Regions from separate parts of the Homo sapiens genome. Here regions 1, 3, 4, 5 and 6 are each linked to region 2. The links are contacts of gene promoters, found by promoter capture Hi-C in human tissues and cell types (Jung and others, 2019). All regions are on one chromosome and are shown on one strand. The core of a region is centred on a gene start or on the middle of the fragment in contact, and the rest is flanking DNA. Distances in the headings are between cores, read along the strand shown.

What was found. Contacts are between HindIII fragments. The study calls those that stand out against the background at their distance.
Region 1: a fragment that was not itself captured here is called in contact with the fragment with the promoter of SRRM2 in region 2 in 2 of the 25 tissues and cell types used here (lymphoblastoid cells and thymus).
Region 3: the fragment with the promoter of ECI1 here is called in contact with the fragment with the promoter of SRRM2 in region 2 in 1 of the 25 tissues and cell types used here (lymphoblastoid cells).
Region 4: the fragment with the promoter of CCNF here is called in contact with the fragment with the promoter of SRRM2 in region 2 in 6 of the 25 tissues and cell types used here (hippocampus, liver, lymphoblastoid cells and 3 more).
Region 5: a contact is called between the fragment with the promoter of RNPS1 here and the fragment with the promoter of SRRM2 in region 2, in 1 of the 25 tissues and cell types used here (mesenchymal stem cells).
Region 6: a fragment that was not itself captured here is called in contact with the fragment with the promoter of SRRM2 in region 2 in 1 of the 25 tissues and cell types used here (spleen).

Annotation. Positions count from the first base shown.
Region 1 is chr16:2,368,050-2,371,735 of GRCh38, forward strand. It overlaps the pseudogene ABCA17P. Among named protein-coding and RNA genes, the nearest start is that of ABCA3, 29 kb to the left of the region's middle. The HindIII fragment of the contact is 6,058 bases long and covers 1-3,686 here.
Region 2 is chr16:2,751,075-2,754,510 of GRCh38, forward strand. It overlaps SRRM2 (serine/arginine repetitive matrix 2), which reads left to right and starts at 1,564. Exons shown (of 15, transcript NM_016333.4): 1 at 1,564-1,772. It overlaps SRRM2-AS1 (SRRM2 antisense RNA 1), which reads right to left and starts at 1,526. Exons shown (of 6, transcript NR_027275.1): 1 at 1,368-1,526. RefSeq lists enhancers at 444-1,286, 886-1,055, 1,116-1,405, 1,287-2,129, 2,130-2,972 and silencers at 1,586-1,895, 1,916-1,975. The HindIII fragment of the contact is 13,386 bases long and covers 1-3,436 here.
Region 3 is chr16:2,249,494-2,252,850 of GRCh38, forward strand. ECI1 (enoyl-CoA delta isomerase 1) reads right to left here and starts at 2,094. Exons shown (of 7, transcript NM_001919.4): 1 at 2,022-2,094; 2 at 1,823-1,936. The coding sequence starts at 2,073. It overlaps LOC107984839 (a long non-coding RNA gene), which reads left to right and starts at 2,177. Exons shown (of 2, transcript XR_001752052.2): 1 at 2,177-2,500. RefSeq lists enhancers at 1,426-1,555, 2,486-2,545 and a silencer at 1,766-2,235. The HindIII fragment of the contact is 14,026 bases long and covers 803-3,357 here.
Region 4 is chr16:2,427,036-2,430,729 of GRCh38, forward strand. CCNF (cyclin F) reads left to right here and starts at 2,412. Exons shown (of 17, transcript NM_001761.3): 1 at 2,412-2,462. The coding sequence starts at 2,447. RefSeq lists enhancers at 1,473-2,052, 1,488-1,667 and silencers at 1,878-2,727, 2,738-2,787. The HindIII fragment of the contact is 14,340 bases long and covers 1-3,694 here.
Region 5 is chr16:2,266,769-2,270,522 of GRCh38, forward strand. It overlaps RNPS1 (RNA binding protein with serine rich domain 1), which reads right to left and starts at 1,358. Exons shown (of 8, transcript NM_080594.4): 1 at 1,287-1,358. It overlaps MIR3677HG (MIR3677 and MIR940 host gene), which reads left to right and starts at 1,895. Exons shown (of 3, transcript NR_132988.1): 1 at 1,895-2,075. RefSeq lists an enhancer at 1,166-1,425 and a silencer at 1,556-2,005. The HindIII fragment of the contact is 10,724 bases long and covers 1-3,754 here.
Region 6 is chr16:2,288,933-2,292,463 of GRCh38, forward strand. ABCA3 (ATP binding cassette subfamily A member 3) reads right to left here. Exons shown (of 33, transcript NM_001089.3): 19 at 3,208-3,306; 20 at 502-688. Among named protein-coding and RNA genes, the nearest start is that of MIR4717, 16 kb to the left of the region's middle. The HindIII fragment of the contact is 8,847 bases long and covers 1-3,531 here.

The DNA of each region.
Region 1 (3,686 bases), core at 170-2,669, 380 kb before region 2:
CTCCCAAACTACTGGGATTACAGGCATGAGCCACCACTTTTGGCCCTATTCTATCTTTTTAAACACATGTCCTGTTCAACACGCATGTCATATTGTATGATCTATGTCTAACATGCCTCCATTACAATCTCCACTGACTGTATCCTTTGCATTTCATCCGTCTCATTTAATTTAATGAAGAAGAAACAGAAGATAATCATCCACACTCTTGGGACTCTCTGCATGTCTGTGCAGCTCCAAAGAGTCTGTTCCTGCTTTGGGGGAATCCCTGAACTCTTTCTGGCCTGTTCATTGGCTGATGCTTCACTTTGATTTTATTTACTCTGACTGATGCTTTTAGATCTTGCCTTGATTCTTATTCCATCCTCCCTGCCCCATCTGCAACACTGGTGCAGAATCCCAGTTCCTGTTCTTCAGGCCTCTTGGTCTTGGCTGGCCCTCTCCCTTTCCCTCTCATGAATCTCCCTATCTGCATTTCTAGTCTGGGAAAATCTCCTTTTCCCTGTCTGTCATTCAGGATAAGAGGACAGAAAATTAATGCCAGAAGGTTGGAGTTTTTCCAGGAGTTCCTATTTGTCCCAAGGGCTGGCATGTGGTCCCAAAGCCAGGTCCTGACTCCTGGCTGCCATAGTCCTCTCTTCTTGGGGAGCCATGCTGACTTTCTGCTCTGTCACCCTCTGTTGAGGGTGAAGGAGAGAGCCTTGCTGAGTGGCTGCTTTGCATCTGCTTGCTCTCTCCCATGCAAAGGGGTCTAACTGCACCTGACAGAGCAAACACCTAAAACTTGGCACCCAGTACTCCCTGGATCTGCCTGCGTTGCCCAACTCTCGCTTCTGGCAACCCCAGGTTCCTAGAGAAGTACTGGGGCAACACTGACACCTGTGCATCCTCTGTCCTTCACAATAAGCATCACATTCCCGACTGAAGGCCCATGGGCCAATCCGCTCTTGAAAGACTCATGCTCTCCCATTCACTTTAGATTTTTTGGTCTTCCTTTTTGTGAGGGGTTTAGGGTGAACATCCTCTAGGCAACTAACTTTTCTTAGAAAATTAAGCTGGTAATCTACATCTGTTGTAGAATGGCTCAAATATTGGCTTGAAGCCTCAGGCCTTTGTGCACACTAAGTGAGAGTCCAAGTCCGAGTACTTACAGTTTTGCATAATTCTAGAAAAGATCCAGCAGTTCTGCAGTGAAAATACTCCTACACACAATCAAGAATATGTAACCATTCTGAGAATTTATTACCAACAATTTGTTCCTTCTTTTTCCTGGACAGATCTGAGAGTCTGCCTAGGTCTAGGCCATCTGAAGACCATAGCCACCTCTACTCCTGGGAGGGGGTTGAGGTACCCCACCTTGGCTTTGCTCATGTTGGAGCCTGGTAACCATTGCTTGGAGGTGGGGCTGTTATCTCTTAGAGGACCCCAGAACCAGGAATCTTTGCCTTTCAGCCTATTTTTCCTGAAAGCTGACCCCATCATGCCAACTATGCTGTATTGAAATGAGTGTTGCTTGTGATAAGGACTGTTTTTGAGACTTAGTAGTAAAATTCACTGACCATAAACCCAACAGCGGTAACAATTCAGAAGTAGGTCACAACAGGTTAGGGAGGCTGTGTCTTTCAAGTGCTTTGAGTTTAACCATCTCATATGAGTGCTTTGAGTTTAACCATCTCATACGTGCTGTGTGATCAAAACTGCAGAAGAGGTGCTCTTTCCCTGAAGTCTGAATACTAAGGGGAGGAGATGTGGTCCCACCTCAAAAGATTCTTGTATTGGACATCTTTTATTTTGCCTGCCCAGGCTCCTTTACCCCATTTTTGGATCATATATGCATTACCCTCAGCTCCAGGGGTCTCCCTTGTGACTTTCCTCTCTTTCTTCCACACTGTAGTGAGGACTCTAGGGATGCCTTTCCTACCGCTGTCTGTCTCTATGAATGCCTAGCCATGATCCGTCTGAAACACCAGTTGTTGTATCTTTATACTTTCTTTCTTTTTTCTTTTTCTTTCTTTCTTTCTTTCTTTTTTTTTTTTTTTTTTGAGATGGAATCTCCCTCTGTTGCCCAGGCTGGAATGCAGTGGCGCAATCTCAGCTCACTGCAACCTCTGCCTCCCACCAGGTTCAAGCAATTCTGCCTCAGCCTCCCGAGTAGCTGGGACTTTAGGCATGCACCACCACACCCAGCTAATTTTTGTATTCTTAGTAGAGATGGGGTTTCACCATATTGGCCAGGCTGGTCTCGAACTCCTGACCTTAATTTCTTGATATTCACTATTTTCTCATAGGATACAACAAAGAAGGCTTCCTGGCCATACAGTATGCTGTGGATAAAGCCATCATGTGGTACCATGCTCACAATGCAATGACCAACATGTTTGAGAATCTCAATGTACTTGTGAAGAGATTCCCATATGGACCCTATATCGAGGACAGGTTCTTCCTAGTCCTTCAGAATGAGTTTTCTGTGTTCTTCATACTCAGCTTCATGTACATTGAGCTCATCATCATCAGTTCCATTGTACTGGAGAAAGAGAAAAGACTGAAGGTAACCCCAGATACTTCAAGTGTATGCCTCTCCTGGGACAGGGGTATGGGGAAGCTGCTAATGAAAAATGACCAGAATAGGAATGAAGCCAAAAGGAGGTTGCTTAGGTGTCCAAGCAACTTCCAAGGTGAGTTGGAACTTGGAAGGTTGTTCACAATTTTAACTTGCTTGCAATCTAGGTGATCCCACCTCTGTTATTACATGAATCCTTGCCTTTAGTCTGAGAATGTCCAGCCTGGTCATTCCTGGTTGGTCAGCACACTGCCTCCCACTAGGTAGGTGTTTGAAAAATGCTTGTGGAATGACTCATGATAAGAGATCTACCCTTCACTATTCACCACCTTGCTTGATGCCCTGAAGGCTGACCTGTAGGGATCCCAGCACATGCTCCCACAAGGAATCTGGCAGGACCTCAGAGGGAAGAAGTAGGAGGATGAGGTCCCTGTGTTGACCTCAGGCCAGCAGGGAGAGATCCCTACAGGTCATTTTGGGCTCAGCTTGTTCCTTAACTGAAGGTCACTGTTCTCGCAAGATGTCTTGCCCTACAAGACTCTCCCATTCTGGATTCTGGTAGCCTCTCTTTCTTCTCATCCATTTGGATCCAAGGAAGGTATTCATGCTTTTGCTGCTAGCCCTAGGTTTCTGCACTATCCTGTAGGGTTTTCTGTCTCTGTGCACACATGTGCCTGTTATAAACAAACCCTCTTTGAATTACTGTAATTTGAATATAACAGTTGTTTCCTTTAGGGATCCTGAATGATACACAATTATATGAGAGAACTACTGCTATTATTCTTATTTAGTAGAGGAAGTAACTTGAGACATAGAGAGGTTAAAAATTTCCAGATAATTTTATATGGAACAGTACAACCTAGCCATAAATACAGTTTTCATTCCCAGATAAAGAGTAAAAGTAAAACAGTTTTCCAGTAATTAAGCTTTAGCTTCTCTGAGTGGAATCTTAGATGAAATATGCCAGAGAGGAATGTGTTCCATTTCCGCTTGGTGCAGAGTCAGGAAAAGATAGTCTCTTGGGGAGTTCTAGAATAGCATTTAGCCCTGGACGCTGATAGGATCAATGTTGTCAGCTCTTCCATTCTATTCAGGTGATGCCCTAAGACCCAACCCAAACTTTCAA
Region 2 (3,436 bases), core at 314-2,813:
GGGGGGGAGGGTCTCCCGGCTCTAGCATCTGAGATAAGTACATCCTCCCACGGGCAAGTGAAAAACAAATCTTAAAGCCGGATACGGGCCGGGCGTGGTGGCTCACGCCTGTAATATCAGCACTTTGGGAGGCTGAGGTGGGCAGATCACCTGAGGTCAGGAAATCGAGACCAGCCTGACCAATATAGTGAAGCCCCGTCTTTACTAAAAATACAAAAATTAGCCAGGCGTGGTGGCACACGCCTGTAATCCCAGCTACTCGGAAGACTGAGACACGAGAATCACTTCAACCTGAGAGACAGGTTGCAGTGAGCCGACAACACACCATTGCACTCCAGCCTGGGTGACAAGTGCGAAACCACGTGAAAAAAGAAAGAACAACAACAACAACAAAAAACAAGGGCCAGATAGGGTGTCATGCACGGGTAGTCCCAGCTACTTGGGAGGCTGAGGTCGGAGGATCGCTTGAGCCCCAAATTCGAGAACAGCCTGGGCAAAACCCTGCCTCTTAAAAACACCCCCAAATCGTAATAACAAATATAAATCCTTGCACTCAAATGGACAGTTCATTACGTGGTACCGCGTCCTGTTGCGGATCAAGGCCACCTGAGTTGGTTAGGACAGCTAAGCGGGACGTCCAGGGCTGCTCGCCAGCGGTGGGTCTAGATATGAACTTGTGCTTGAGCAGCCCAGCGTCTTACAACTCTGCTGTGAGGACGGCTGGCTGATTATCAGGCCCAGAATCACGGGCTTAGAAACATTAACAGGAAGTACGGTACCGAAAAGTGGAAACTTTAAGGTGCTTATTATTTTCCTCCTGCCTTGTTCCTGTATGTGCCGCTTCACCGGTATCACGTCCTGGGTCTGGTGGGACCCCGGCCTGGCTGCCCTACCGGAAGCTAAGAAAACTCCTCCCCCAGGGGTGGCCGTCGGGCCTCAGCCCGGTCTACAGCGGGAGAACGTGGCCCATGCTACGGGTAACTGGTTGGGCCCCTGGTGCAGGTCTAGGGCCTGCAGCCAGGCTCGGGGCCTCCGGGGGTGCCCGCTGGCTGGGGTCTGAGGCGGCTTCTCTCGGGTACGGGAAGGCGGACTGCTGTGCAGCTGCGGGCTCGCTCGGGAAACCCAAAGTCACACGAAAGCGGCAGCACCACCGCGGCTGGGATATCGTCTCCCAACATGGGGAGACAAAATGGCCGCCACGCCCCGAGCCGAAATTACATCCGGGCTCCGCGACACGCCCGAACCACAACTCCCAGAATGCTCTGCATCGACAGCGGGAGACGAGACGCGCTCGGGCGTCGCTTTGCTGCCGCTAGGCCCTGTGCTCCTCCCCGCAGCGGAAGGCCTACGAATACGCGGTGTCTTACGTCGCTTCCTCCGTTCTTCGTTGCACTGGCCAACGGGACGCTTAGTCTTTCGGCAACGGGGTGAAACCTTCCTTGTGCCTGAAAAAACGGTACTTCGCGGTGTGGCTTCGGCGCCTGCGCAAAAGGCCGCGGGGCGCACTCCAGTTCCCGGCAGGCCCCGCGACGCGCGTTTGCGTGCTGACGCACGCAGTTAGTCGTGCTGACGTGCAGCGCGGCCCAGGCGGGGTGCGAGTGGCGCAGTTGGAGCCCGTTGCGGCCCCTGAGGAAGCGAGGAGGCGTCGGCGTCGGCTGAGGCGGGCGGACCGGCGAGGCGAGGCGGCGGCCCCAGGCCCGAGGGACTCGGGAGCTCGAGCAGCGGCGGCGGCAAGACCTCTCCCCCTCGGAGGCGGCGGGCGGAGGCGGCGGGTGAGAGGGTGAGGGAGCCAGCGAGCCGGGTGGGGGAGGGGCGGCGGCCCCGGCGCGAGGCCAAAGCGCGCGGAGAACTGCCCAGGCCGCCGAGCTCCTCCGCGCGCACGCGCGCTCGACGCCCTTCGCTGGCGCGGACGCCCTCGCCTCCCTTCCCCCTTCCCGCCGTTCCTGTCGCGCGCGGGCTTCACCCCCCCCCGCCCCTCCCCCATGACAACGGCGTTCGCAGCCGCCTGTACTCGGGTTCGCGAGCGCCCTTGGTGAGGGGGGAGGGCGCGCGCCTCGGCTTCACTCCTCCCCCCAACATGTGCCGCCGAGGTGGCCTTCCTGCAGCTGCCGTTTTCGGCCCTTAAGTGGCGGGGAAGGGGCGGCGGCGGGGGGCTTGCTCCTGGACCCTTGCCCCCGGTTCCAGATCTCCTTTCCTCGGGCTTCTCTTCGGCGTTGGGCTGCCCGTGTCGGGGGCCTCCCAGACTGCGGGACGCCGCGCAGCCCCCTCCCCCATTCCGCAAGGCCGAAAATAGGCCCCCGGCGCTGCGGGGAGGGCCTTGAACTTCGTGGGCCGGATTTAAATGGTTTAGGATTCCCGGCTATCAGCCTTTGAGTTGTTAGTGGCGGGGAGAAACCCCAAATCTTAAAAACTGTGAAGAAAGTGAACGTGTTCAGTTTACATTTGTAAGGTAGACCGTGCGTTCCCTTTTTACACTTTTTCAACGTCTCCCGAGAATTCGTGTTCAAACTAAGGAGGCTTTTGGAGACCTTCGTTGGGAAGAAAACGCCAGACTCATATATAAGTTTTCTGGTTGGTTTCAGGCGTTCTTTGGCACACAGCTCTTCTGAAGCTTGGTTTCCACTCGGCTTCAGTTAGGACGAATCTGGATCAGAATTTCAGAGTGTTGTGTTGTCTTTCATCCTAAGTGCGTGGGCTTAGGGCTCTTCTAAAGCTACTATTTTAGCTTTCTGGGTTCTTTGTGTCCACTCAGCCGCTCTGGAGCGCCCCGGTGCTGAGCTGGCTGTGCTTGCTGATGTCCATTTTTTTCGACAACCCTTGTCTCCCCTTTTTCTCCCCTTTTGGTACCGTTTTCTTTTTTGCATATTTTACTGTTGAATTCAAATATATCTTTCTACTTCATTGTTAGCTTACCACTCGGATAATTTCCCAACAGAAAAGGGTGTTTTTGTCTTCCTTTGTACTTTTTACTTTCTGCTTTTAACTTGGGTAACTTTTGCATATCCACTGTCTATGGCCCCCACTTTAAGAGTTTTGTAATATCGTTTGGTTTGGTGATTTGTGTGTGGTGTTGATCTTCCTACTTTCTGTGTCTTAACACACCCCTTAGATGCCGTGGGGTCGTCGTCTTTTTTTGTGGGGTGGACTAGGTGGCTCATTCCCTAAAAGTTCTCCGAAACATTGTGACCTAATATCCTTTGCTTAGCACCTACTGGTTTTTCTTTTTTTTTTTTTTCCGAGACGGAGTCTAGCTCTGTTGGCAGGCCGGAGTGCAGTGGCGCGATCTCGGCTCACTGCAACCTTCCGCCTCCCGGGTTCAAGCGATTCTCCTGCTTCAGCCTCTGGAGTTGCTGAGATTACAGGCAATCGCCGCCGCCCAGCTAATTTTTGTATTTTTGGTAGAGATGGAGTTTCACCGTGTTGGCCAGGCTGGTGT
Region 3 (3,357 bases), core at 844-3,343, 500 kb before region 2:
CACACATTACCTCCGGTAAAAAAGGAAAAGTGTTCGTACAATGACAATTTTTTTACTCGAGTGCCTCCCCACTTTACCATATAAAAAGACAACGTAAGCCGGGCGCGGTGGCTCACGCCTGTAATCCCAGCACTTTGGGAGGCCGAGGCGGGTGGATCACGAGGTCAGGAGATCAAGACCATCCTGGCTAACATGGTGAAACCCCGTCTCCACTAAAAATACCAAAAAAAAAAAATTAGCCGGGCGTGGTGGCGGGCGCCTGTAGTCCCAGCTACTTGGGCGGCTGAGGTAGAAGAATGGTGTGAACCCGGGAGGCGGAGCTTGCAGTGAGCGGAGATCGTGCCACTGCACTCCAGCCTGGCGACAGAGCAAGACTCCGTCTCAAAAAAAAAAAAAAAAAAAAAAAAAAAAAGACAAAGTAGAGTTTGGAGTCAGAAAGTCAGGCCTGACTGAGATTGCAGTGAGCCGGAACCGCGCCATTGCACGCCAGCCTGGGTGACAGAGGGAGCCTCTGTCTCAAAAAAAAAAAAATAATAATTTTTTTTTTTGCATTTTGTTGAGATATATTCAAATATGCTACAGAAATGATCCCTTCAGAAACTCAGTTTTTACAAAAATTAGTGGGCATAGTGGTGGGTCCCTGTAATCCCAGCTATTTGGGAGGCTGAGGAGGGAGAATCGCTTGAACCCAGGAGGCACAGGTTGCAGTGATCGGAGATTGCGCCACTGCACTCCAGTCTGGCGACTGGAGAGCAAGACTACATCTCCAAAAAAAAAAAAAAAAAAAAAAAAAGTCAGTTTGAAGTTGGTCTTAGTTTGTCCCTCTCAAGTTTGTAGAGAGAGCCCAGGCAGCTCCCTCAGCCCAGACAGAGAGGACGGAACCAAGTTCAGAGGCACCAGGAGCCTGGAGTCCTGAAGCTGTGCAAAGTTGGGCACAGCCCTGAGTCTGGGGGGTTGGGGAGGGCAGGGGCTGTGACTTACTTGCGGAGGGGGAGGGCCTCCTCTCAGGAGCCACAGCAGGGACTGCTGCACCGGGAGGTCCAGGTCAGCATGTCCTGGAAGCAGAACTGCTGGCGCCTAGGCGTGCCCTCTCGGTGCCCTCAGCTCGGCCTCCTGTCTGGAGGGAGCGCACAGGCTTCTCTTCCAAAAGTACTTTTTCTATCCTTTCCAGTGGGTTTTACCAAGGGTTCTGACGGGCGGGTAGGTACGAGGTTCTGTGCCACATGGGAGTGTTAACAAACGTAATTTTATTCCAAAAGATTCCAATTCTTTTCCACTTCCAATTGAATAACTTAGATAACAGCTCATATCCCCGCCAACTTTATTTTTATTTATTTATTTATTTTGAGACGGAATCTTGCTCTGTGGCCCAAGCTGGAGTGCAGTGGCACAATCTCGGCTCACTGCAGCCTCCACCTCCCAGATTCCAGCGATTCTTCTGCCTCAGCCTCCCAGGCATAGGCACGCACCACCACGCCCAGCTAATTTTTTTCTTTTGTATTTTTCAGTACAGATAGGGTTTCATCATGTTGGCCAGGCTGATCTCGAACTCCTGACCTCAGGTGATCCGCCCGCCTCTGCCTCTTAAAGTGCTAGGATTACAGGCGTGAGCCACCGCGCCCGGCCTCCGCCAACTTTAAAAACAGAAACTTTTATCTCATGACGAACGAACCCAGGTAGAGCGGCAAGGTTCTGTTTCGAAACTTGGGTTCTAAACACAAACCGAGCGTCGACAGACGTGGTTCTCCGACAGCACCCCGCGAGCGCGGACCCCCGCGGGTCCTGACCCCACGCCCGCCCTCCCTCGGCGCCGCCCGCTCACCTGCGCCCGCGTCCGGCTCCACCAGCACCCGCTGGCTCCCGAAGCGCCGCGCGCCGTCTCCGCCGCCGGCCGCCCGCTCCGTCCGCCCGAGGGCCGCGCCCGGGAGCCGGGCCCCTGCGAAGGCAGCGTGGGGGAGCCCGTTAGTTCCCGGTCCTGGCCCCGGCCCCGGCCCGATCCCTGCCCACCCCGGGTTTCGCACCCGCGCGGAGCAGAACGCGCGCCGGGACTCGCACAGAAGCCACCAGCGCCATCTTGACCGCAACGCGCGGGATAAAGGTCGCGGGCTGAGCTCGCCTCCTGGGGAGGGGGCGGAGCCCCCCCAACTAGGTCCCGCCCCGTTCCCAGAGGCTGGTCAACGCCTCCACCTACCGGCCGAAACAGCCGCTCGCCGCCCTCCGGCTTCACCCCGGGCAGCCGCGCGCTTCCGGGGCAGGCACCTGGATCTGGGCCAGGGCTGGCCTACAAGGAGGCGCAGGCCCACTGCTGAAGCAGCCACGACCAGCTCAGCGCCAGGGCAGGCTCTTCTACAGCGCGGGACACTGTAGGCAAGAGGCTGCCGGTGTTCGTGACCGCGAGCTCTCGGCCGGGCCCAGCTACTGCAGTATCGGCGCTGGAAAGGCGATCAAAGCACGGAACCCCTCCCGAGGGGGCCGTCAGGGAGGCCAGGGGCTGCCTGGGGTGAGCCCGGCCTCCTGCCCCTTTGGGAACAGGATCAGAGCTGCAGGTTTAGTCACCGAAATGGGGGTGGGGGCAGCAGAACCCAGCGGTAAGAACAGGCCACCCGCCTTGCTCAGCACAAGGGCAAGTGCACAAAGGCCGGACCGCAGTGGCACCTTTTTATTTGCAGAGAAATGCCGAAAGATAAGAATACAGTCTGTTCCCGCTGGGCCGTAAGCGGCAGCTCGGGAGTGGGCCTTTGTACTGTCTGGTGTGGGGTTTTGGTCAGACCACTGGGAGCACTGGGCAGTAAGGTCCCAGCTGTGTTGGGTGGTCTCAACTTTTGTTCTCATCTTAAGCATTTCCAATTCTTCCTTGTGTCCCAAACCAATTTTTGAGGTGGAAAAATGGCCACTTAACGGAGGAGGAAGCAAGCCTGGCATGGTGACACACACCTGTAACCCCAGTGACTCAGGACCAGCTGGGTAACATAGCAACAACTTGTTGCTACAAAAAATTCTTAAAAATTAGCTCCTGCTGCTGGGCGCGGTGGCTCATGCCTGTAATCCCAGCACTTTGGGGGCCAAGGTGGGCAAATCATGAGGTCAGGAGTTTGAGACCAGCCGGGCCAATATGATGAAACGCCGTCTCTACTAGAAATACAAAAAATTAGCTGGGCATGGTGGCAGGTGCCTGTAATTCCAGCTACTCAGGAGGCTGAGGCAGGAAAATCACTTGAACCCAGGAGGCAGAGGTTGTAGTGAGCCAATATTGCGCCACTGCACTCCAACCCAGGCAACAGAGACTGTCTCAAAAAAAAAATTAAAAAATTAAAAAAAAATTAGCCCCTGCTACTCTGGACACTGAAGAAGGAGTTG
Region 4 (3,694 bases), core at 1,162-3,661, 320 kb before region 2:
CTACAGCAGGTACTCTGGCGCAGCTCCAGCATGAGAACCACTGAGCAGAGGCCCCATGGGCGCCAGACCATCACACTGTCCAGATGCAGATGGATGTGGCCACATGCCTTTGTCATGTACACTCACCTCTCTTCTGAGACGGGCTCCATCCCGTGGCCTTTCTCTCTCTGTGGAGTTCACTCTGCCCCTTGCCACAGGCCCCTCAGCTCCTCTCTGGGAAGTGCAGATGCTGGTCTCTGCCCCTTCTCAGCCAGGACTCAGGAAAGGGTCATGCACAGGCCTTGCCTATGGTTCCTGCACCCCTTGCCCAGAACAACGGCGTTGCACACCCATGGTCGCCAACCCACCCTCCTCAGTCCTCGTTTCAGGTGACTGCTCCCTGTGATGAAAGCCACTCCCTGGGCTCCCATATCCAGCTCTCATTCCTCCCATGCCCCTCTCTGCCTCCACTGAAGGCCCATCTTCTTCTCTGAATGTGGGATTTCTCAGGCTCCCAAGCTACTTCACTTTCCCTTCTCTCCCCTGCCCCTCACTACCCATAACGTTTTCAACCGACACCTCATTCCACCAGGAATTTCCCTGAGCTCCTAACAGTTTAGACTTTTCCAACAAGGTCTCACCTTCCTGAAGCCCAGTGGGAAACGGGCCCACACCCTGGAGGAGCCACTTATCACCCCAGGGCAGCCCTGGAGGCTCCCACTGCCAGTGCAGGGTGTGGGGCGAGAGCAGGCATGGCTGCAGTCAAGACAACTCCTGCTCCCTGAAAAAGAAATTTGCCTGTCCATGTTGAAAGGAGAGTGATCAGGACACAAAGCACAGGATAGAGCTAAACAACAACCTAGGGACCAAGGATGCTGTTCTAGATTCTAGAGGCAGCTGGTGTGGCTAATGTGCTCATGGCTGGCTCTAGTTGATTAATCCCTTCAAGATGCTATGGAAGCTAACCCTGAAAGTGCACCTCTGCCCTAGGGGGAGACAGGTAACAGTGACAAAGTAGGAAACAGTAACCCAGGAGGACAAAAGTGAGATAAGGGGATAATAAATCTGGGGGCTGAGAACATGGGACATCTGGGGAGCAGGCCCCAAACTCGCTCAGCCTGTCCTCTCTTCACCCTCCTTCACCCGCTTCCTGATTCCGGGACAGGGAATATTCCCAACTTCCAGACCCTCTCTGGGGCCACGGACTCTTCTGTACCCTGTGCTGTGATCACCTGTTTACTCTGTCTCTTGCCCCAGGCCGGCTGAAGCCTGCACGCCAGGGCTCCTGTCTGTGTGCCCAGGGCAGGCCCAGTACTTGAAGGAGTTCTATGGGGACCCGGAAGGATGGAAGGGTGCAGACTGAGGGAAGCGTGAGGGAGGGGTGGGCAGCCTTGGCCCAGGCCCCTGCCTTCCCCAGGAAAAGCCCCCTCTGTCCTCCACCAGACAGTCAGGAGGCTGCGAGTCTTCCCCTTGACAGCCTGTGCCGTAAAAGGGGTGCGGTGTGGCTGACTCCTGAAGGACAGCTCAGATGGGCACTGCCCAAGACAAGAGTGAGCAGATACGACACTTCCCGCGGCGAGCAGCTCCAGGTAGCAGCCGAGGAGGCCAGACAGGGGGCAGCATCTGGCCAAAGTGATGGGGAGGGCTTGCCCCGGGGCTGGAGCACTGAGGCGTCCAGGGTGCGCCACGTTTCGCGGGAAGAAGGGGTCAGCGTTCCGCGGGGGAGACTTCCCAGCGTCAGCTCCGACCTCCTCTTTCTCTACCACGATCCCGGCCAGCATCCCCGCCCAGCAGCGGCTCAGCCACAAACCCAAGGGTCTCCACCTGAAGCAGGCGGCGGAAGGGAAGGCCGTGCAAGCTGGGGGTGAGGGTCGCGGGCCCAGGAGCGACCCCGGGACCCGGGCAGGGCACGGCCTCGTCTTAGAAGCGCCACGTCGAGGCTGTCCCAGGCTGGATCACGGCCGCGACTGCGAGGGACGCCAAGGAGTCCTCTTTCCCCTGGCCGCAGGCGTGCGCCTTCGCAGCCCATCTGGCACCGCAGATGCCGGTCGCCGGGGTCAGCGGCGAAGCCCGAACCCATGCGGCCGGGAGGGGACGCCCACAAACCCCTGCCCGCCGGCCGGGAAGCGCTCCTACGGGACCCCAGCCCCGTTGGGGAGGCGGGGCGGCCACGCGGGTTCCACCAATCAGCGGCCAATGTTCGAATTCGCGTCCTGGCGCGGCCAATGGCGGGTCCCGGAGCAGGCGGGGAGGGCGTGGAGGGCGGTAAATGAGGCGAGCACAGGGCGGGACATGGGCGGGGCCGGCGGCGGCCCCCCCGGGCAGGCCAATGGGAGGGCCGGGTGCGTTTGAAAACTGGGGTGGGCGGCGGGGCGGGGTCTGCGCCTGCGCGAGGGCTACGCGCGCTCCGGCCGGGGCGCGGGCGCGCTCTCAGGCGGGCTCCGGCGGCAGCGACGCGAGCGCGGCGATGGGGAGCGGCGGCGGTGAGTGCGGGGCGATGTCCGCTGGTTTCTGCCCCACACCCCTTCTGCCTGCCCTGCGGGGCGGACGGTGGGTCCCGCGGGAGGGGAGGCCCTGGCGGCCTGAAGAGGGCTGGCTCGAGCTCTTTAACCCGGGGCGGATGTCGCGTCCCGCGCAGGGAGCCCCGGCGGCCGGGCGCGCGGTTTAAATGCCCGGCGGGCGCCCGAGCCCCTCGGAGCCTTCCCCCGCGGCGACGTTTTCCGGCCCTTTCCTGGGGCAACGATCGGGTCCCGGGGCAGCGATCCGGCGATCGGGTCCCGGGGCGGCGATCGGGTCTCGGGGAGCCAAACACCAGCGCCTCCTGGTCGGGGAAAGGGCTGCGGAGCGCGTGGGGGCGAAGCGATCCCGCAGCCCGGCCGGGCCCTGACCGAGCCTCAGTCCAGCGGGGCCGTGGACCTAGCTCTGTGGAAAGCAGCGTTCGGCCCCGCGCGCGTTGAGGCACAGGAAACACGAACTGTGGTTTCAGCTATTATCATAGTATCTGTCCTGGAGCCGGAGAATGAGGAATATTTTATGGAGAGGTCTATAGAATCTTTGAGAATTCGTCGCCCTGGAATACGTTTGGCTTTTGCAGCTGATTTAATTGCTAACAGGAAGACCCCGGTCAAGAGAGGGGAGCCGGGAGCAATCGCTAGGAAGTCCTAGCAAGGCGGGGAGGGATTTGGGCCCACAGAGGGGAGTGGCGCTTCCTTTCAGGACTGGAAGGAAGGATGGATAGAAAGGTAGATTTGTAGATGGGGAGGCAGGATCCTGAGGTTCCTGTCTGAGGGCTTCTGTTTCCCTGTGAAATAAGGGCTAAGGTCATCTGCTTAGAGTGAGGAAGGGGTTGCTGGAGTAGGAGTTGGAAAATCCGGCTGTGGGAAGAGGAGAGAGCACATCTGAGAAGCATGTCCGGGCTGCCTGCCTGGTGGGTGGAATGCCCGTCTCACCTTTAATGATTGCATCTGTACACAAACCTACAGGTCTAGGTTTGTGTTGGGACCTGAGCAACAACCTTACTGCGTAGCTGTCAACTCCGCATTCTACAATAGAGGGCACACTGAGACTCTGCAGAGCTGAGACTTGGACGCACACTGCCCCGGCCTCCAAGTCTGTGGCTTCTCTCCAGGGCCGACCCTTCTAATTTGGACTTGAAAACCAGACTCTTCAAGCCCACAGATCTTTATTGAACATTATGCACCTTGGTCACGTGTGC
Region 5 (3,754 bases), core at 108-2,607, 480 kb before region 2:
TCACAAAAATGGGTGAAATTAATTTTTAACGTTTGACACATCCAAAATATTATCTTTCCAACATATAATCAACATAAACATCTAATAAAAGTTTGCTTTTTTCCTAGTCTTCTAAAACTGGTGTGTGTTTTAATATTTCAGTCTTGATTAGCTGTATTTCACATGCTTAGCAGCCACATGTGGCCAATGGCTACTTGGCTGGACAGCACAGACCTAGAGTGGAGGTCACACCCGCAGATTCCAGCCCCACCCCCCCAAGAACTAAGATCTGCCCGAATGTACTTGGTGAAATCAAACACCACCAGTTATTCTTAAGCACTCCAAACACTAAGAACCACTGAGTAAGCGGACGCCTTGCTGGGTGCGGTCGAGTGCTAGAAAGCAAAAGTTGAGGTTCTCTGTTCACCCAAGTTCAGGTACCGGCTCAGGACCTCGGTTACCTCCCCCATCCTCCGGAAAGGTGCGCGTCCAACAGCCAGAGAGAGGAGAGAACAATTAGTTAAATCTCGAGGAGAGGGCGTTTCGGCACAAATCTTCAGAGCACCTTCCCCATTTAAAAGTACATTTCAGGCACAGTTCATGCGGAATCAAGACAAAAAGCCTACTCCACGTTTCTCCTCCAACAAACTTAACCTTCCCGTATCCGCCCCTCTGGGGTAACCCATCAAACTGAGCTCGGCCACCGTGCTCGGTCCATAGTGGGCCGTATCCCCACGGCCTAGCGCCGATAATTGCACACGGGAGTCCGGGAAACGTTCGCGGAGTACACGTTTGAATTAATGACTCCGAAGGGGGGATCGGCCGACCTTCCACCGCATCCCACAAAGAAACTCCGCGCCCGCCGACACCGGCCCGACACGCCGACCTCGCCGCTACCCGTCCGCGTTCACTCACAACTCCCCCGTCCAGGCGCCGGGCCGCGAGCGCTTCCAGGGCAGGGCCTGGCGTTGGGGGCTTGGGTCTCCGGCCCGGCGGGAGGGCCCCAAGGGCGGAGGCCGCGCTCCCCGCTGGTCTGAGTCCCGCGGGCCTGGCTGGGCCACCGCCGAGCGGACGAAGCACAGGCGCCCTTCCGTCCGCAGCGGCCCCGACCACTTCCGGGCCACGGCCTCGACACCTCCCACTCCGCCCGCCCCGGGCCACACTCTTTCTTCTCGGAGCCCGCACCGCGCTGCCAGGCCACCGCCGCACTGCGGGGCTGAGGAGTGGACCGGCTTCACGAGGCGTCCTGCCGGGCCTGCCGGGCAGCCCCCGAAACACGGATGCAGTCGGATTCCGCCCCAACTTACATCTTCCCGCCGCCGCCACCTCCTCCTGCTTTCCTCAGCCGCCGAGGCCGGCGCCGCTCTGACGTCAGAGTCAAGGAGCGGGAAGTCGCCGCCGCCCGGCGCGCAGCGATGACGTAAACGCCTGGCCCAATGGGCGCCAGCGAGGAAGCGTTAAAGAGTCAAGGCAGTTTGTGGGAGTCGCGCTGGGGACGTTCAAGGTGTCTCCTAGCCGGTAAAGTCCCTGGGACTGACCGGGCTGGTTGCACGCTTACTGGAGCGGGCACATGGGTAGCCTGTTGAACCTGGGAGGGCAGCGCGATGACCGAGGCTCGTCCTCCGGCGCGGAGGGTGTTAACGCGCCCGTGCCCCGCCCCTTTCCTTGCGCGGGCGCACTGGGCCCGCCCGGGCAGACTCCGGCCCCTGTCGCCGGCGGTGGAGGCGGGGCTCCGGGCCGGGCTGTGCTGAGGCCGGCGGGGTGGTAGCACAGGAGGGGTTCGCAGGCTCTGCGGCCGTGCGTGGCGGGGCGTGGGGGCCCGCAGGGCGGAAGTAGCTCGGAGAGACGGGCTGGGGCAGGGCGTGCGTTCGTGCGGTCAAAATCCACTGGTGGCGTTTGGGGTGTTCCCGTGGACGCGGCCTCCCGGCAGGCGGACCTCCACCGGGTGGGCGCGGCAGGCGGGCTGTGCGGGCAGGAAGAGCGACGAGCTTGAGAGTGGGAGATGGGGTGCAACGGCGGGCCTCTCCGGGGAGGTGACACTGCCGCTGAGACCCGAATGGAAGGGCGCGCCCGGCGGGGGAACAGCAGGCGCCGAGGTTCGCTGGAAGCAGGGAAGGGAGGCCCGGGTACCGGCTCGCAGGCCCGCGCGAGCTTCGCGGCAGCGGCACGGAGCGTGTGAACGGCGCAGCGCCGAGGCTTCATCCATCGGCCGGTGCAGGGTCCGGGCAGGGAGCACTGTCGACCAGGGTCCGACCCTGGGAGAGTCCAGAGGTGGCGCCTCTGGCAGGGACAGAGGAGGGGGTGACGCTGTAGGGGTGCAGGCAGGAGGCTCCGCGTCAACTCCCCACACTGACGGGGCGGATTTTTTTTTTTTTTTGACAGAGTCTCGCACTGTTGCCCAGGCTGGAGTGCAGCGGCGCGATCTCGGCTCACTGCAACCTCCGCCTCCCGGGTTCAAGCGATTCTCCTGCCTCAGCCTCCCGAGTAGCTGGGATTACAGGCGCACACTACCACACCCGGCTAATTTTTTTTGTATTTTTCTGGTAGAGACAGGGTTTCACTATGTTGGCCAGACTGGTCGAGAACTCCTGACCTCGTGATCCGCTCCTAGGTTCGCCTTGGCCTCCCAAAGTGCTCGCTCCTGGGCGTCCCAAAGTGCTGGGATTACAGGCGTGAGCCACCGCCCCCGGCCGAGGGCGGGTTTTGTTCTCTGCTGTGCCTGTCAGGCAGTCGTTGCCCTGTGGTTATTTGTGGAGGGATTGACGGTGCGCTGAGCTTCAGACTTTGTCTGAACAGCTTCGTGGCAGCAAGGAAGGGAGAAGGGAACAGATCCAAGCCGATCTTTGGGAGGAGAGAACCAGCATGACTTGGAGACTTTAGATGTCAGAGCAAAGGACAGGGTGCAGCTTGGTGACCCGGAGTGGGTGGGTGGGTGAATGGATGGATAGATAGTGGGGATGTGGTCTGCCATCACTGCCCTCTTCCCTGTGTGGGAAGCCAGCTCTTGGTGACTTCCTGCCGAGACCCACTCCCTCTGGCCCTGTCCGAGGGTGTCAAGTGTGCCCTTGACCCTTCACCCTGGGCTAAGGGATGTCCAAGGAGTTGGGGACAAAGGCAGCTAGGAGGAGGAGCTACCTCCCGAGTCTGCTGCAGTAAGTCACCAGTGTGTTCCTGTGGGTGGAGGCTGGCAGGCCCATCAGTCTGGTTTGGGTACCCGTTGGATTTGGGTTTGATGACATGTAAAGTGAGTTAGAGTCTCTGCATTACTGTCACACCTGCTGTGCCCAGGCATGGAAGATTAAGTGGAACAGAGGGGCCGCCCCCCTGCTGAAGGGGCCCCAGAGTCGGCGCTAGGGGAGGGGGCAGCCTCGGTGGTCCAGGCAGGCATAGGCGGAATTCTCTGAGGTGGCATTGGAGTCCAGTGGTCAGAGGTGCTAAAAGGCCCCAAACCTAGAGCCCATGCCCAGGGCCCCACTGACACCTGGTGGGCAGGGGCAGCCTGGTGACCCCACATGACATGGGTGGGCGTGACGCAGCACCAGCTGGGCCGACAGCCCTCCCCCTGCTGGTTTTTAATGCTCTGCAGTAATGTCATTTGGCCTGCGAATAAGCTTTCACACATTTTATATTAAATCTACAAGTATGATTTATTCAGGCACTTACGAATTTAATCAAATTTGTTTCTAAATATTACTGATTTTTGTTATCAAATGTGCCATCAGCTGTTGAGCTTTGAGAATTGAGCATCCTGGCTTTTGCCATTTTGAGGATCAGC
Region 6 (3,531 bases), core at 79-2,578, 460 kb before region 2:
GTCACAGGAAACAGATGGCCGAGCCTCCCAACCAGCCTGACTGCCTCGTTCTCCAGCTTCTTTCCTTCCTGGTCCTCCGAGACAGAGAGCGTCAGGGCTTTGAGATCAGGCTGACCAGGGATCAGAATGAGCTCTGTGACTCTGTCACATCTGACTTTGGCCCAGGCCTCGGTTTCCCATCTGTGAACCGAGTGCATCAACCAACCTCCGTGTCGTTGGCTGCTAGAGAGCCTCATCAACACAGAGCTGGGCACCCGACAAGCTCCTGTTGAGCAGGGTGCTGTGCCTGAGGTAGAGCATGAGAAATTCCAGTTGCTCCATTCAAACGCTTCTCCCTGCCGACCCATGCGGTGTGAGCCGCTGCCCGCCCTCTGCCCGGTGTGCTGACTCTCCCGGACCCTGTTTGCGCCCTCGCAGACTCTCCTCTGCATGGGCTTACATGAGGCGTTTGGGGGCTGCTCGCCCTTCCCCCGCCACCCGCCCACCCACCTGGGCACTCACCCCAGTGTTGAGCTTGACAGCGGTGCGCTCCTCCTCGATGAGGGCTCCAATGCCGTCGGAGGGGTCCATGGCCCCACAGAGGTTGCTGTCCACAGCCCAGTCGCTGGCGCGCCTCTCGTGCTGGTACTGCAGGGCAGGGAGCTGGATGGCCTGGATGTCCATACTGCTGTCCACCAGCTTCCCGACCCTGTGCCGATACACACAGGGACCGGTCAGGACCCAGCTCCCCGGGTGGGTGGAGGGAGGGACTATGGTTAGAGGCACTGAGGGGAGCAGTGTTGCCGCAGTCCTTGGCTTGCTCATGCATCTGCTTATGTGTTTCCTCACTCATCAGTGTCTCCGGCCACCATGCACAGCTAATTTTTGTATTTTTAGTAGACATAGGGTTTCACCATGTTGGCCAGGCTGATCTGGAACTCCTGACCTCAAGTGATCCACCCACCTTGGCCTCTCAAAGTGCTGGGATTACAGGCATGAACCACCAAGGCTGGCAGAGGAGGTGATTTTTTAATATTATGTGAATTACATCACACACACACACACACACACACACACACACACACACACACCCCTTCCTAGAGCTCCCCGCCGATTAGGAAACACAACTGAGGCTGCAGCAGGCAGGAGGCACCCCCCGGCTGGCTTAGCAACATTGTCAGGCCACACTTGGAGCCCGTGTGAGCCCTGTCTGCCTGCTTCTTGCTCCTGTGTGCAGGCTGCCGTGAGGCCTAAGTACCTGCTCCTCTGGCCCTTGGCAGAGCCCTTCTCCCTCACTGGATTCTCCCAGTCCCACTCATCTTTCATGATCTGCTCAGAGACACCAAGTGTTGCCATCTCGTCAGTATTCCCTCTGATTAAAAGCCTTCCTGCCCATGGTCTGAGCTCCGGTGGGCGCTTACCAGCCTGGCTAGCTCTCCCCAGGTCCTAGACAAACCAGGAAAAGCTTCTGATTATTTTTCTCTTGAGACCAGGAGCTCAGAGAGGCCAGGGTCAGGTGTGGGGCCTGGAGCTGAGTCACAGGTGGGCCGTGTGGTGAGTATGAGATGGGGCCAGAGAGGCCTGAGACCTTGAGAGACAAGAGGCCCTGTGGCTGCTGAGACGCAGCAGGATCAACCCGGGTTCTACCCTCAGAGCCGGCTGACTCCAGGCCAGCCCGTGGTTTCTTTCTGTTATGTTCATGCTTCCTTCCTTCCTTCAACCAGGATTCACAGAATCAGTCAGTCAGTGCTCGGTCCTGTGTGGGACACAGGTCAGCGGGCAGTCCCTCCCTCCCTCCGCCGCCTTGCCTGGCCTTTTTCCCTGGGTCTGTTCCTGGACACATGGTCCCCTGCACAGGTGTCCCCAGAGCATGCACCACCATGTCCTGCATGTATGATCACCTATTCTGTCGCCTCCTCTAGGCTGTGGGCTCCCTAAGGAGGAAAACCTATCTCACGTTTTTTTCTTTTTCTTTTGACACAGGGTTTTGCTCTGTCCCCCAGGGTGGAGTGCAGTGGCACAATCTCAGCTCACTGCAACCTCCACTTCCCAGGTTCAATTGATTCTCCTGCCTCAGCCTCCCAAGTAGCTGAGATTACAGGTGTGTGCCACCATGCCCGGCTAATTTTTGTAGTTTTAGTAGAGATGGTGGCTGGGGGTGGTGGCTCACGCCTGTAATCCCAGCACAGATCTTCAGGTGGGTCACCTGAGGTCAGGAGTTCCAGACCAGCATGGCAAAACCCCATCTCTGTTAAAAATACAAAAAAACTAGCTGGGCGTAATGACGTGCGCCTGCAGTCCCAGCTACTGAGGCTGAGGCAGGAGAATCGCTTGAATCTGGGAGGCAGAGGTTGCAGTGAGCTGAGATTGCACCACTGCACTCCAGCCTGGGAGACAGAGTGAGACTCTGTCTCAAAAAAAAAGAGATGGGATTTCACCATGTTGACCAGGCTAGTCTCAAACTCCTTGGCTCAAGTGATCGCCTGCCTCGGCCTCCCAAAGTGCTGGGATGACAGGCGTGAGCCACCACGCCCAGCCCCCATGCAGTTCTGAGGGTCTGGATGAGATAGTTCCCATCTTCATTAACGACACAGGTATCTCCCAAGGACGATCTAAGCCCAAGAAGAGCTGGGCACGCCTCTGACGCCGTGTGCCAGCTAGACCCGTGGCGGGTCTAGGAGGGACCCCAAGGCAGTGCAGGCCCCTCACGTGTGCCGCCGTTTCCCACGCACACCAATGTTGCTGACAGTCACAATCTGCACTTGGGGCTCTGACGGCGGCCACTGCCCGCCCCACCCCAGGCTGTTCCTCCAGCCTCACGTGGGCATTTGAGATCATAACCGAGGTGACTGTTTATCACTGCACTTTTTAGAAGTCCTCGGCTGAGCACGGTGCCTCACGCCTGTAATACCAGCACTTTGGGAGGCCAAGGTGGGCGGATCACCTGAGGTCAGGAGTTTGAGACCAGCCTGACCAACATGGAGAAAACCCATCTCTACTAAAAATACAAAATTAGCTGGGTGTGGTGGCACATGCCTGTAATCCCAGCTACTCGGGAGGCTGAGGCAGGAGAATCTCTTGAACCCAGGAGGCGGAGGTTGCGGTGAGCCGAGATCGCACCACTGCACTCCAGCCTGGGCAACTAGAGTGAAACTCCATCTCAAAAAAAAAAAGTCCTCTGCAGCACGGAGCCCAGTCCTAGGTGGACGGAAATGCGCATTTACTGACCGAAGGAAGACTTCCTCCATGGTGGTGATGGATGCCCCAAAGCTGGCAATGCCCAGCTCTTTCTGCTTCTTCTCCAGTTTAGCAAAGAGACCTTCAAACCTGAAAAACAGACCCAGCATTATGAGTCACTTCTCAGTGACTTTCTAGATAATTTGTTCCTAAAGCATCACCCCCCCTCGGCCAGGCACAGTGCCTCACACCTGTAACCCCAGCACTTTGGGACGCCAAGGCGGGCGGATCACCTGAGATCAGGAGTTCGATACCAGTCTAGTCAACATGGTGAAACCTGTCGCTATTAAAAACATAAAAAATTAGCCACGTGTG